Linked DNA regions of Homo sapiens: region 1 is linked to region 2. Evidence: promoter capture Hi-C in human tissues and cell types (Jung and others, 2019). All regions are on one chromosome and are shown on one strand. The core of a region is centred on a gene start or on the middle of the fragment in contact, and the rest is flanking DNA. Distances in the headings are between cores, read along the strand shown. Region 1 overlaps PDE4B (phosphodiesterase 4B). Region 2 holds the start of AK4 (adenylate kinase 4).

Region 1 (6,942 bases), core at 4,015-6,514, 760 kb before region 2:
TAACCTATCACTGTACCACTGATTGGGTCTTATTTACATCTTTTCAAGGTGAAACTAGGTGAAATGGTCTTTATATCTTTTTTTTCTGATATTGGTAATACAAGTTAAGGTGATCAGTTTCCTGGAGCCATGCTCCCTACTAGCGTAAGGACAAAAAGGAGTGATATTAAAAGATACTAAAGTTTTTAAATGCCTCATATTTAAGGCAAATGTTGTAAGTGAGAGGACAGATCAGGTTCTCTTAATCTGAGATTACTGTCCCTTATAAAATTTGCTTCTGAATAAGCAAAACACCATATGCTTCATTAAAACAAAGTCTTTCTAAAAATTTCCAAGGTGACAAATGTGATGACAGATTCCATTTCTGATATATGTTTAATAGTTTTCCCTGTGGTTTTATATTTCACCACTTAAAAGATGCTTTTAAATTTATATTAGTCCTTCATAACGTTCTGTTTTATTCACACTAGAATATTCTTTATATAATTGCACCTTTTCCTCTTTCCCCTTTCTCCACAGATATTTAAAGGCTAAAATGAGGAAAAGGACCCTGACTTCTGTGTTAATGTGTGAATTTCACCTTTCACAGGTTAGAGTTATCAGTACTAGTGATACCTGGCTAAAAGGAATTTCAGTGAATAGTGATAATTATTTTAAAATTCTATATCATGGACACATGCTAGACAAAACCATGCAGAAATGAGAAAAACAAAAGTAATATTTTGAGTTTAAAAATACTACTTTTTTTCCAATTTAAAAAATATCTTTTATTTTGCAGATGATGTTCAAAAAGCTTTCATTCTATTTCTTATGTAACTGATTTATTGAACATTCTGAACTCAGTAGAGCACAGATATGAACTAGTCTTCATTTTTCTCCAATAACTGTTTTCCATATGCAATATCAAATCTATTCTCTCCTCCTTAACAACAGTTCAGATTGCTTCCATAACTCCCATCGTATAACTGTTTTAATTCAGTGGCCAGTGTCTGGGACTTGGAGTGGGAAGAAAGAATGTACTACTCTTTTATTCTTCCTCTCTATTTTTATCTTCAGGTTCTAACTCTTTCTATATTGTGGCAGAGTAGAAGAACTAATGACAAGAGGGAAAAGTCTTCTTACTTAACTAAGCATTTAATTGCAGTCCTTTTTGAGTGTCTCTGCTTCTCTGGTAAAATCAGACTTACTTTGACGCCTTCTCTAAGGAAGGTGTTGAGATGAGGCCCTTCCTGTAACGGGGCAGTAGGAGCTTTCACACTGGGGAGAAGTAACTTCAGTTCCACCCCCACTGGCACACATTGAAACTCCTGTTGGTAAGGTCCCCTTGCCCGATAGTCTACTCTCTTGATTGGAATAATGACATGATGGCTCAAGCTGCAATGTCCACTTGATCCAGAATAAGCTCAAGCATCCTTGTCACACTAAATATATATATCACTAAATGTATGTATACTAAATGTATAGATACACCTAAATGTATAGGCTGCTTTGCTGCTATTTCTTCTCTGTTCCTTGCTATATCTCTCCACTTCTCTTTCTCCTTCTCAAAAAAGCACAAAATCCTTCTCCATAAGTGATCAATGGAGAGAAGAGATACTGTCAGTTATTTACCAATGTCTTTCAGCCCCAAGCCAATCATTCTAAATTCTGCTATGTGAATCAAACTACATTGCAGACTACATCGCAAACTATATTTAACAGATTCTCTTTCTAGGTGGCTTCCTTTAGGTGCTGACAATGGAAATCACTGGTAGGAGACTAGAAGAGACTTGGAGAGAGGAGACCCTCTTTATTCTTCCAGGAGAATTGACAAATTGCTTGTATTAAATCCTTTTGTTTTCCTAACTGGAGCCTAAGGGATACAGAAGTTAACCTGTCCTTTGTTGAAGGCACTTGTCTCTAGAAATGGTTCTTCATTTTCAGTAGGCCAATAACGCACTTCTCCAACACCTCCTCTCCCCACCTAGAGTCTATGTATATGAGAGTTCAGAGGTTGCCAGGATGAGGATTAGAATCAGAACCCATCTGGCTGCCTCTGCCTCAGAGCGAGGTACGAGACCACCCTTGTGTATGTCTATCCTTACAGAACGTGAAATAGTTTGATGGCTTTTAGTTCACTGTTTTGGGTTACAGTTGCCCTTTCTAGCTTAACAGGAAAAGTCCTACTCATCTCCTTTTAGATGAGAAAATGTCCATTTATGAAATGACAATAATATAATGAGGCATTGGTGTATTTTTGCTTTGTTTCTTAATGTTCTGAACTGAGAAAACTAAAAATTGGCAATTCTACGTAAGTCTCCTAATTCTTTGGAAATTTTATCAATTCATAAAGTATAAACGTCTAAGAACCTCAAAACTAGACCATGGGATCTTGACTTTTAAAACTAACATCAAGGTTTAGTTCAAGAAAAAGAAGGTTTTCTGGTTTGTGCTAGCATGTACTGTACTATGAACTGAAGGAAGACATGCCGGATAAAGCAGAGCCTGAACTGCTGTCTCCACTCCCAGCCCCGACATCCACCTAGCTCTAGTTATCCACTTAGCTCTGGGACTTCGGTTTCCTCAATTGTCAAATAAAGGGATTGGAGTATAATCATCCGTAAACTTTATGAAACTAATGAAATTCCAGAAAACTAGCAGAAATAAACACAAACTATAAAAAACAACTCTAAAGACTCAACAATTAGATAAACATATCAGAATTTGATACATAAAATATTAGACTTTCCCCCTTAATTTGCATCTACTGCTCTCTTCACACTTTCAGAAATTCAGGACTACTGCACTCAGTTATTGCTGCTTTCTTATTTTAATATGATGGAGATAAACAGAGGCAAATGTGCTTCCTCCCCAAAATTTTTGAAGTTGTATGATGCAAAAAATAAAGAGCAAGTAAATTTGAGGGGAAAAAAGTATATGTAATAAGAAAGGTCATTTTATTTGTAAAGTTGCTCAATATTTAGACACAAACATTGCTTGGAGAGAAGAATCAGTTTTTTCAATTAAGTAATAAGTATCAATGACTTTTGAGATAAAAACTGAAAAGTGCTAGGGATTAATATGAACTTAAACCATTAGCTTATCCTGAGAGAACAATAAGTAACAAAGACATAATGGCATCCTTTTAAATAATCATCAAAAGGCAAAGTAGCCAGGCTAAATGCTGCTTTGAGTAAAACATGTCTCCTGAACAACCACTTAAACCAATTTCTACTATAAAATACATTCTTTGTAAATTACTAATAGGGCATGCATTTGAAATCAATACACATGGTGACAAAAAAAGAAAGAATTCTTAATATTCAATTTGCTGAGCTGAATGCTAATGTTCAACAATAACACAACAGAGAGAAAGTGACAAACTAACCCCATGTTTCTGCTTGTGTAAATAATGCCTCAATGAATTTGTTAGTGAATTTCCCTGCAGTATATACTAAGTGGGTAAGTTTTAAAGAGTTGAATTATTTTTCCTAGTCTAAAAAAAAGTAATCACTGATTAATCTCTTATGGTTTAAAATACCATAAAGAGGCATATAAATCACTTTCATTTCAGCCATTTTTTGTTTCATCTTAAACAAAAGGAAAAGAACAAAAAAATCCCTGTATTCAAATCTATTAATAACCTGGTATTGCAAGCTCTCTCCACACCTGAGAGTTTTCATCTCTGAGTTATCACTGTGCCAAAGTGAAGATGGCATTAGTGGAGGTTTAGGATGGATTAGAGAATTTTTTCCGTCTCCTAAAATAAACCACAGAAGATCTACAAACAGATGTAATAGGCAAGTATGGCTGAAACACATTCAATTCATTTAATATTTGCTGGGCATCTGCTCATGCTCAAATTTAGATCTTCTAATGCTACCCTCAAAGGTATTTATCAAACAGCCACTCTAGGATTTCAATTAATATTACCAACTTTCAATGAGAGTATAAAAAATTAAATTGCATCCATGATCCAAAACCCCCATTTCCATCCATCATGAAAAACCACTTCTTTTCATCTGATTTCTCAACAACAACATCAACAAAAGATTGAGAGCCCAACATGTGGTAGGGACTTGCTAGATGCCGTGGATAATACAAAGACGAATATACATAGTCCTTGGCCTTAAAATGCCCCTGTCTCATCTTAGGAGAGGAGAATCAACGCTTATTCATCCTACAATACTGAACACCTTGGCCTGGGTCAGGTTCACAGTGCAGTGTGAGAAGTGCAACAGATCATGGGTTCATTAGGTGAAAAAATGAGTGAAGCCACCTCTATGGGCAAAATGTTATCAAGGAAAGCTTCATTGAGGAGGCTACTGTCCTTTTCCAGGTATTGTAACTAAGAAACAAAGAGAGAAGCCCTTCCACTCCCCCTCTCTCTATTCTCCAGTGTGATCTTTTAAAAATGCAAAATTCCTTATATTAATCCCCAGCTTTGCATTCTTCATGCTTTCTGTAATTTTTAGGATAAAGCAAAACCCTTAATATGAAGATTAATCATACAAGTCCCTACAGATCTGGTCCCTGCTTGACTTTTAAACCTCAACTTCCTATTTTTGCTTCCACTTGCTTCCCCACCTTATGCTTATGCCACATCACTCTCCCCTGTAACTCATTTAGCTTTAGTTCGACTGGATGTAGAGTGTATCCAGCATGCCCTTCTTGTCTCCAAACTTTTCCTACACTATAACATGTCTTCAACTTTGCCGGGCTAACCCATTCTTCAGCCTTCAGCTTTGATGTCATTTGTTCAGAAAAGCCTTTATGGACTTCCCCTACCTGTAAGAAGGTATTATCACATTATTTTTCTATTCACAGTATTTTTCACAATTACATATTTGTTTGTATGAATGAATAGGTTTATGCCTCCCAGAAGCTCATAGAGAATACTGCCAACCACTATATCTCTTGTGCCAAGCAATAAATATTTGCTGGAAAATGTTTGAATGAGTAGACTAGATAGGCTTGAGGCCTCTTGCTAGATTCCCTGAAAGTGTGATAATCCAAAAGCAGCAGATAGGAGGGGGCAGGAAATAGAATCAGAATGCCTGGTAAACTGCAAATGTCAGCTATATTGACAGGATACATATTCCTACTCTTCTGACAGAGATATGAATAACTTTATGGCAGGCACTATTCTATAGTCCCTAAATCTATCATCTCATGTAATTCTCACAACTATTTTTATCTCCATTTTGCAGGGGAGAATTCTGAGGCCCAGAAAGGGTGAATGACTCATCTAAGCTCACTAATCTAGGAAAAGGCAGAGAGACAGGATTCACACCCAGGCACTATGCCTGCAGAGCTCATGAAATTAACCATTACGTCTGCTGCCACTTGGAAGCAGCAAATAAGCATTGTTTATCAGAGAACAAGCAGCAAATAGGATGGGTCAGGGCCAAGAAACAGGATAATTGGGAATAAAAGTAGTATTTCAGAACAAGAAAGGAATCAGAAGATTTTTTTAATGATGAAACATAAAGGAGAGATATGCAGTTGGCAGAACATATGGAGCCTATGAACAGCTACTCTTTCATGTAATCTCATAGGAATTTACATTAAATTGGAAAACGTAAATTGTGTGTATAAAACTGTATATCTAAAACATAACTTAAAAAGCATAATAATTTGTCTCTGTTTTATCTTATGTTTCAACAAGAATTCACCAAGTATTTTTTCTTCTAAATTAGACTTTGATCCAATACTAAATTTTTTTTAAGTTAATACAGAAGACTCATGACATTCATTCACAAGTGCTATGTCTCTAGACTTCAAAAAATTGTCCACCTGTACAGTGCTGTTCAAACATGTTTCATGGGGTATATGGGACACAGACAGTAATTTGGTGTAAGTCTTCTATGTAGACTCAAAGACCCCAGACACTCTTCATCAAGTAACTTTTTTTCCTTTCTTGGGAAGACCACTGAAACAACAAAGGGCAATAGTTCATTCTTGTTTTAAGCAAGCAAGCACACAAAATTTCTGTGCATTCCTTTCTCAGAAATATAAATACTACATCATTACAGACTTCATAAGAGGAAGATAACAAAAATGTGAGAAATCTTTCCAGGACTTCAAATGAATTAATGGCCTAATATTTACTGGCTTAACTGAAATATAATTGGATATGAAGTCTGCCAGTGATTCCCTACCTAGAAGCAACATCCAATTTGGGCCTGTCTGTCCCAGCTCTATTAAAATGTCAGGGGATTCAGGTCTATGTGGACATACGAAAAATAAGCATGTAAACAGAAACAATTTCAAAAGCAGAAGGCTGAAACTCATGTGGTAATACTAGAATGCCACATAATATTGTTTTGATAGAACATAAAGGAACATAGAAATACATTTTTATTGGTCTTTAAGTGTCTTCATATTTAGAAACTATCATTTCCTTATTTATTTTTGTTTTTTTAAATTTTTTAAAAATTATTTTGAGACAGGCTCTTGCTCTATTGCCCAGGCACGACCATGGCTCACTGCAGCCTCAACCTCGTGGGCTCAACAGATTCTCCGACATCAGCCTCTCAAATGAGCAGGGACTACAGATGCACACTCCCACACCTGGCTAGTGTGTGTGTGTGTGTGTGTGTGTGCATGTGTGTGTGCATATTTTGTAGAGATGGGTTTCGCCATATTGCCCAGGCTATATTTATTTTTAAAGATGAGAAATTAAGCTTTGCCCTAAGAATGGACTCATCCATGAAATTTGACAAGCACCTAATACATTTGATATGCAGGAAATGAGAGGCCAGAAGGAACAAATATTAGAGGACAAAGAGACTTAGCAGCTACAACATCTAATTTTTAACTATTTTACATTCTGGAACTCTGTGTAAGATTTTACTTGACAAGAAGTTCTGCCACTTAAAAAGAAAAGCTTGAAAACCACTACAGTAGTGCTTATTATACCCACTTCCATAAAATGTCTTAGAGCAGTGATTTTCAACTTTT
Region 2 (6,154 bases), core at 3,384-5,883:
ATGAGCACCAAAAAGAACCCTGAGCCCTCTGAACTAGGCCATCTTTTCAAAAAGAGGCTGGGCCCATAGACTAACTTGAAATGCTAGTCCCATCAGCAAAACTCCAGCAAGAGCTGCAGTTAATATTGAGAAGCAGAGGCCAGGTGCGGTGGCTCACGCCTGTAATCCCAGCACTTTGGGAGGCCGAGGCAGGCAGATCATGAGGTCAGGAGTTCAAGACCAGCCTGGCCAAATGGTGAAACCCCATCTCCACCAAAAATACAAAAATAGCCACACGTGGTGGTGTGTGCCTGTAGTCCCAGCTACTCGGGAGGCTGAGGCAGAAGAATCGCTTGAACCTGGGAGGCGGAGGCTGCAGTGAGCCGAGACTGTGCCACTGCACTCCGGCCTGGGTGACAGAGTGAGACTCCGGCTCAAAAAAAAAAAAAAAAAAAAAAAAAAAAAAAAAAAATATATATATATATATATATATATAGAGAGAGAGAGAGAGAGAGAGAGAGAGAGAGAGAGAGAGAGAGATAGCAAGTGCAGAAACAGGTTTGTTCCTTAACATCTTTTATCTCAATTAACTCCAAGATGCTTCCAAATGGAGATGTGCCAGTTTTCCTGCACTTGAGATAGTAGATCCAGTATAATGTGGTTTTAAAAAATACCACTATTTCTCCAACCTTTAAAACAGGATTTGCATATCCTTTAGATATGACCCAATAAAAGAATCTATCATTAAATATCAGAATTTGTTCAGAGTTTGTAGTAGGACTCACTCAATAGAGTGCCAGTCCCTGTGTGTGTGTGTATACTCATACATACATGTGCATACCCATACATACACAGAGAAAAGCTAATATTTCTTACAACAGAGGGTAAGACCCAACTCCTGGCAATCTAAGAGAACTCTCCCTTCTATTTACTCTTGCAGTGTGCTAAAGAAAATCTGAGCCAAAGATATGGGTGTGACTCTTCAAATGAGGTATCTGATAAGCCTCAGCCTGTACCACTCTAGGCAGTGTAGGAAGGGCCAATGGGTGACAGCTACCATGAAGCTAATCTCAGATCCATATTAAGCACAAACTTTTACCATAAATCAGAGCTAATTAAACAAAATGGTCTCTATGCTATAGGTTGCTTGACTTCTGGACTAAGATGTACTGTCTAGAATTTGTGACCCAGGCCTTTAATACAGACTCGGTAAGCTCCTTTTATACATTAGGTACTTTGCCTGATCCCTGTCCTCCAAGTTTCAGAGTGGAAATTGTACAATGGTATAGGCAGAAAGAACAAAAGGCCCAAGAATGGGCCAGGTGCAGTGGCTCACACCTGTAATCCCAACATTTTGGGAGACTGAGCCAAGAGTTTGAGACCAGCCTGGGCACTAAAGCAAAACCCCTATCTATAAATAATAATAAAAGAGGCACAAGATTATCTTAATGCTATTGCCCCCAGCACCTAGAACATTGACGCACAGCAGCCACTCAGCAGATATCTTACTGGGTGTGAGACAGGCATTTTTACACTGCATGATATATGACTGCAACATTAGAATCAATAAGACATGTGCAGAGGAGAGGAGGTCAGGTGCGGTGGCTCACATTTGTAATCCCAGCACTTTGGGAGGCCAAGACGGGTGGATCATCTAAGGTCCCGAGTTCGCGACCAGCCTGACCTCGAACCTTCGTAGAGATGGTGAAACCCTATCTCTACGAAAAATACAAAAATTAGCCGGGCGTGGTGGCAGACGCCTGTAATCCCAGCTACTTGGGAGGCTGAAGCAAGAGAATCGCTTGAACCCGGGAGGCAGAGGTTGCAGCGAGCCGAGATAGCGCCACTGAACTCCGGTGTGGGTGACAGAACGAGACTCGTCTCAAAAAAAAAAAGTTATGTGCAGAGGAAAGAGATGAATTCTGCCAGAGCAGGTGAGGGAAGACTTCCAAGAAGCAATGACATCAGAATGGCCCTTTCCTGAAAGAGCAGCTTTTCACCAGGCTGCAGGAGGAGGAAAGCCATGTAGACAAGAGTGTGCCCAAATCCAGGCTGGAGCAGATGGCCGGAGCTACTTTCCAATTCAAATTCCTACACGGTTCTATTTCCTGGGTTTTTGTTGTGCTTCATCGTCTCCTTCAAACCTTCCATTATAAAGGGTACATACAGAAGGGTGGTTGTGTTTCCCACCAGGAAATCAGCTAAAAGCAAACAGCAGGTAACAGACAGAAAAATAAATACCGTGGAAAGGAATGTTTTATTTACCAGGCAGTAAGCCTATAAGATTCTCAGACCTTCTGAGAGGGAAAAATAATCCGATAACCCGAAAGTTCACTAGAAACAAGCCACTTTCAAAACAAATTGCTGTCCTTTATTTTTCTTCTTTCTTTGATAAAGTTTTTTTTTTAATTGGCTCATGCAAAAAGCTGCTTGATTCCCAACAGAAAAAAGAAAATCTAAACATTTCATAGTCATTTCTCACTCCAGGGAGGATCACTGGGGAGGAAATGAAGGCATTTGAAAGAGAATGAAAACTAAAATTTAGAACACAGGAAAGTTAAAAAAAAAAAAGAGAGAGAGAGAGAAAGAGAGAACAAGGGAAAAGAGCAAATGGAAAATTTTCAAAGCCCCTAAGAAAGTGCAGAAATAAGCTACTTCCCATCACACTCTCTTTAAACATGGAAAGGGCTATGAGTCCAGTCCCAGGATGGACAGTGTGAAGCCCTTCATTCCAGAAGGAAACAAGTCACCAAGTAAGGTACAGAGAATTATGGAATGGGCTCATAGAAGGAAACAAGTCTCCTAGTCAGGTACAGAGAATTATGGAATGGGCTCATCTCTTCTCACTGTCTTCCTTCACTGACTCCATGCCCCTACCATGAAGAAGCCCAACCTAAACACAAAACCATTAGGATGAGAGCCAGCCTTCCCCCTCAGGCCGCTCTCCCCTCAAACCGCAGCATTTCAAGAATAAAATGCATGTGAATGTATTAAAATCAAAATAGGCGCACTTGAGGTAACAATACCCACAACAGAAAACTCAAGTGCAATCTGGTACACATAATTCTTCCTTTTGAGACATGGGGGTGGGGGAAGAGTTTCCTGTAAAAGTCCGCTTTTTCAATCTGCTTAAGAGATAAGGAATACAATTCTGGAGATACTTCTTAATTCCTTGCTTTTAAGCTTTCCTTTTGTTTTCTGGTACTGTCCTCCACCTTCCTTTTCAAGCCAGTCTGTGCTTCTGAAATGCAGATCTCCGGATAATTAGTCCATGATGGGCAATAACCAGCCCGGACATCCTTGAGAAGTACATCGACAGTAAAGGACCCCTGCTGGGAAGAACAACTTTTCATAAAGGAGTTGCTAATTACCAGCATCTCCATCCCAGAAGGGTTAAGAGCCTCGCAGCAGCACAACCGCTACCTCTCGCCTTTTAACGCCAATTCTTTCGGAACTGGTGTGAACGTGGAGTGGGAGGAGAGGGGGAAAGGGACGCACTCAACCCCGTCAGACTAAGAAATCAGGCGATCTATATATCCCCAAGTTCACCACGCCAGCCAAAGGAGGCATCTCATGCCAAGGGAGGCAGCTCAAGAAGCCATTTCCAGGAAAGCTGCATTACAAAATGTAATTTATCAGAACGAGTCTCCTCCGAGTCTCCTGACGGCCAGGCCCGGCGGCTTCGGGAGGGGGGGGAGTTGCTGGGGAGAGTTTACCTTAGAAGGCGACAACGAACAGACAGGCCTTTCAAAGCCACCCAGGGCTCTGCCCCGAGGCCCGAGGCTGCGTGGAGGGGCTGGAGAGGCGCGAGGCTGCGAGCCCCCCGGCGCCACAGGTTCCCCGGCGCGCGGCCCCGCCCGACTGCCACAGGTGGGCGGCGCTCCGCCTCTGGGCTCCCGCGGGAGGGGGCGCGCGGCTCTCTAGGGACTCGGGGGAGGGGGCCAGGGCTAAGGGGTACGGGGACGGCTCTGCCTTAAGGAGGGCAGCGTGAGACGGAAGCTCCGGGTTTTCCCTGCCTAGTTCTCGTTCCCTCGGCCGGGTGGCTCGGGCTATTCCTCGCGACAGGAGGAGCGGTGGAGAGGAGCCGTGGGCACCTCCCACCGGCCGCCCCTGGAGCCTCGGCCTCCTCCCCAGGCGCGGTTAAGCCGCGCGGCCGCCAGCTGCATGCGCCCCGGCACGTACGAGCCTGCACGACCACACGCGGGCGGGGGAAGGGCGCCGTGATCCGGGAGCCCCAGTCCCTCCAGGGCCTCACCCCAGCCCAACGCGGCTCGCCCCCGGCCCTCGTCCCCGCAGCCCCTCACCGGTGCTGGCCTTGATGTTCTCCCGCAAGAAGTGGCCGCTGGAGAGATGCTGGAGACCAAAGTTCTGGGCGATCCTCTGGCACACGGTGCCCTTGCCCGAGCCGGGCGGCCCGAGGATGACCGCGCGCAGGAGTTTGGAAGCCATTGCCTTCGCGAGGAGGGGGGCGGTCAAACGCGCAGCCCCGACCGCGGCCCCGGAGGAAGCCCCGGGAACTTTGTTTCTCGGCCCCCTACCTCTGGCACCCTCCGCTCTCACTGGGACTCGCCGGCCGCCCCTACAGGGGGAAGGAGAGACTTTTAAGACAACCCCTCCCCTCAGCCCAGCGCCGGGACCGAGTAGCAGGCGGACTGAGCGCCACGCTACACCTCCCCGCCCTTCTCCACCTCCTCGCCCTCCTCCACCTCCTCGCCCCCACGCAAAGCTGCTGAAGCGCGCCGTGCCCCGCCCTGCCGACTCGGCCTCCAGGGGTCAGAGGTCGGCCCGGCCAGTCCCACCTTCATCCTTAACTCCAGCTCGCTCCCCACGCCGCGTCCGAGAAGGGGGCCGGGCGGCCAGGCATCCCCAAGCCAGTCTCCGCCGAGCCGGGGAAGCTGGCACAAGCGGGGGTGACTCAAAGCCAGCCCCCGCCGCCCCACGCACCGGGCGGCCTAGGGGCTGAGCCCCTGCCCGGTCCTCGCACGTGGGCAACGTGTGGTCTGCGTCTCGTCCCCTCCCCGGCGGCTGTCACATCCCCCGGAGTCTCAGCTGCCGCCGCTGCCCGCCGCCCGCGCGCGCTCGGAGGGGCCCACCTCCGCCCGGGGTTGGCGGATGCGCTCCCCGGCCATGGGGCGCGCGACGAGCCCGAGCCCCGCGCCTCGCCACCAAAAGCAATCAAATAAACACACACCTTGGCTGGAGGCAGCACTCCGAGAGGCTTCCAGCCCGGATCCTGCAGGGCGGCGCCGCCTCCGCCCGCCCAGTCGCGGAGCCCCGGCCGGCCGCGCGGGACTCGCGCCTTACGTAAGCCCGGGAGACCGGCTCCGCGCGAGCCGCTGGCCGCCGCCCCCTCCCCTCCACTCCACTCCACTCCCACCCAGCCTGCCTGGCCCACGTGCTCCCTGCGACCCAGCGAGGGCTGCGGGGGCGAAGCGAGGTGCAGACCACGCGAGGTAGAGAAACCCCTTTTTTTCTTTCGCGGTCGCCTGGGGACCGCGGTCTACTGCAAGGGAAGGGAAAAATACAACTTGTTGAGCGCCTACTGTGCGCCAAGTTTGCGGCTAGGTGATTTCATTGTGTTTACAGCCGAGGAATGGAGCGTGACCATTCATTCATTGATTCATTCTGCAAATGTTTATTGAGTGCCTACTGTGTGCCAGAAACTATTCTAGGCGCTTAGGATCTAGCCGTGAACAACAGATCGAATCCTGCTCTCAAGAAATTGCGTCCTAGCGGGAGGCTGGAACCCAAGACTGACTGACTCCAAAGTCTAGGCGCCTTAGGGAACAGGGAAGAAGGGGATGTCCCTCACCTGTGTTCAGGACCTTCTTGGTAAATGATTCCAGGACTTCCATGCGCATTATGCTGGTGCTGCACCTATAACTCACCAAGTCCAAATGGAGTCTGTCTTCCCCCACTCCACCCTCCCCTGCATATCCCAATCCACATTCTGTTAGATCTGTGCCCACCTTACACACAGCCTTTAATTTCCCACCCCAACTAGTGGGATAAGTGCCCATAAGACTCCAGTTTCTGTGCCATTCCATTTTCCGTGCAGCTGCCAGGAATACTGATAAAGTGAAAATCAATATTTATTATTTCCCGGCCTCAGATATTGTCTTCCCTTCAGGATAAAGTGAAAAATCTTCAGCAGGGGCGCAGAGATGCCTTCCGT

Evidence for each region. The method cuts DNA at HindIII sites, captures the fragments that hold promoters and counts their contacts. A contact is called where the count stands out against the background at its distance.
Region 1: a fragment that was not itself captured here is called in contact with the fragment with the promoter of AK4 in region 2 in 2 of the 25 tissues and cell types used here (mesendoderm cells and thymus).

What each region holds. Positions count from the first base shown.
Region 1 is chr1:65,903,062-65,910,003 of GRCh38, reverse strand. The region is part of intron 1 of PDE4B (phosphodiesterase 4B); the gene reads right to left. Among named protein-coding and RNA genes, the nearest start is that of PDE4B, 110 kb to the right of the region's middle. The HindIII fragment of the contact is 5,447 bases long and covers 2,541-6,942 here.
Region 2 is chr1:65,146,682-65,152,835 of GRCh38, reverse strand. AK4 (adenylate kinase 4) reads right to left here and starts at 4,633. Exons shown (of 5, transcript NM_013410.4): 1 at 4,284-4,633. The coding sequence starts at 4,428. RefSeq lists enhancers at 1,026-1,075, 2,666-3,384, 3,385-4,103 and silencers at 3,697-3,976, 4,037-4,336, 4,717-5,216, 5,227-5,466. The HindIII fragment of the contact is 12,604 bases long and covers 1-6,154 here.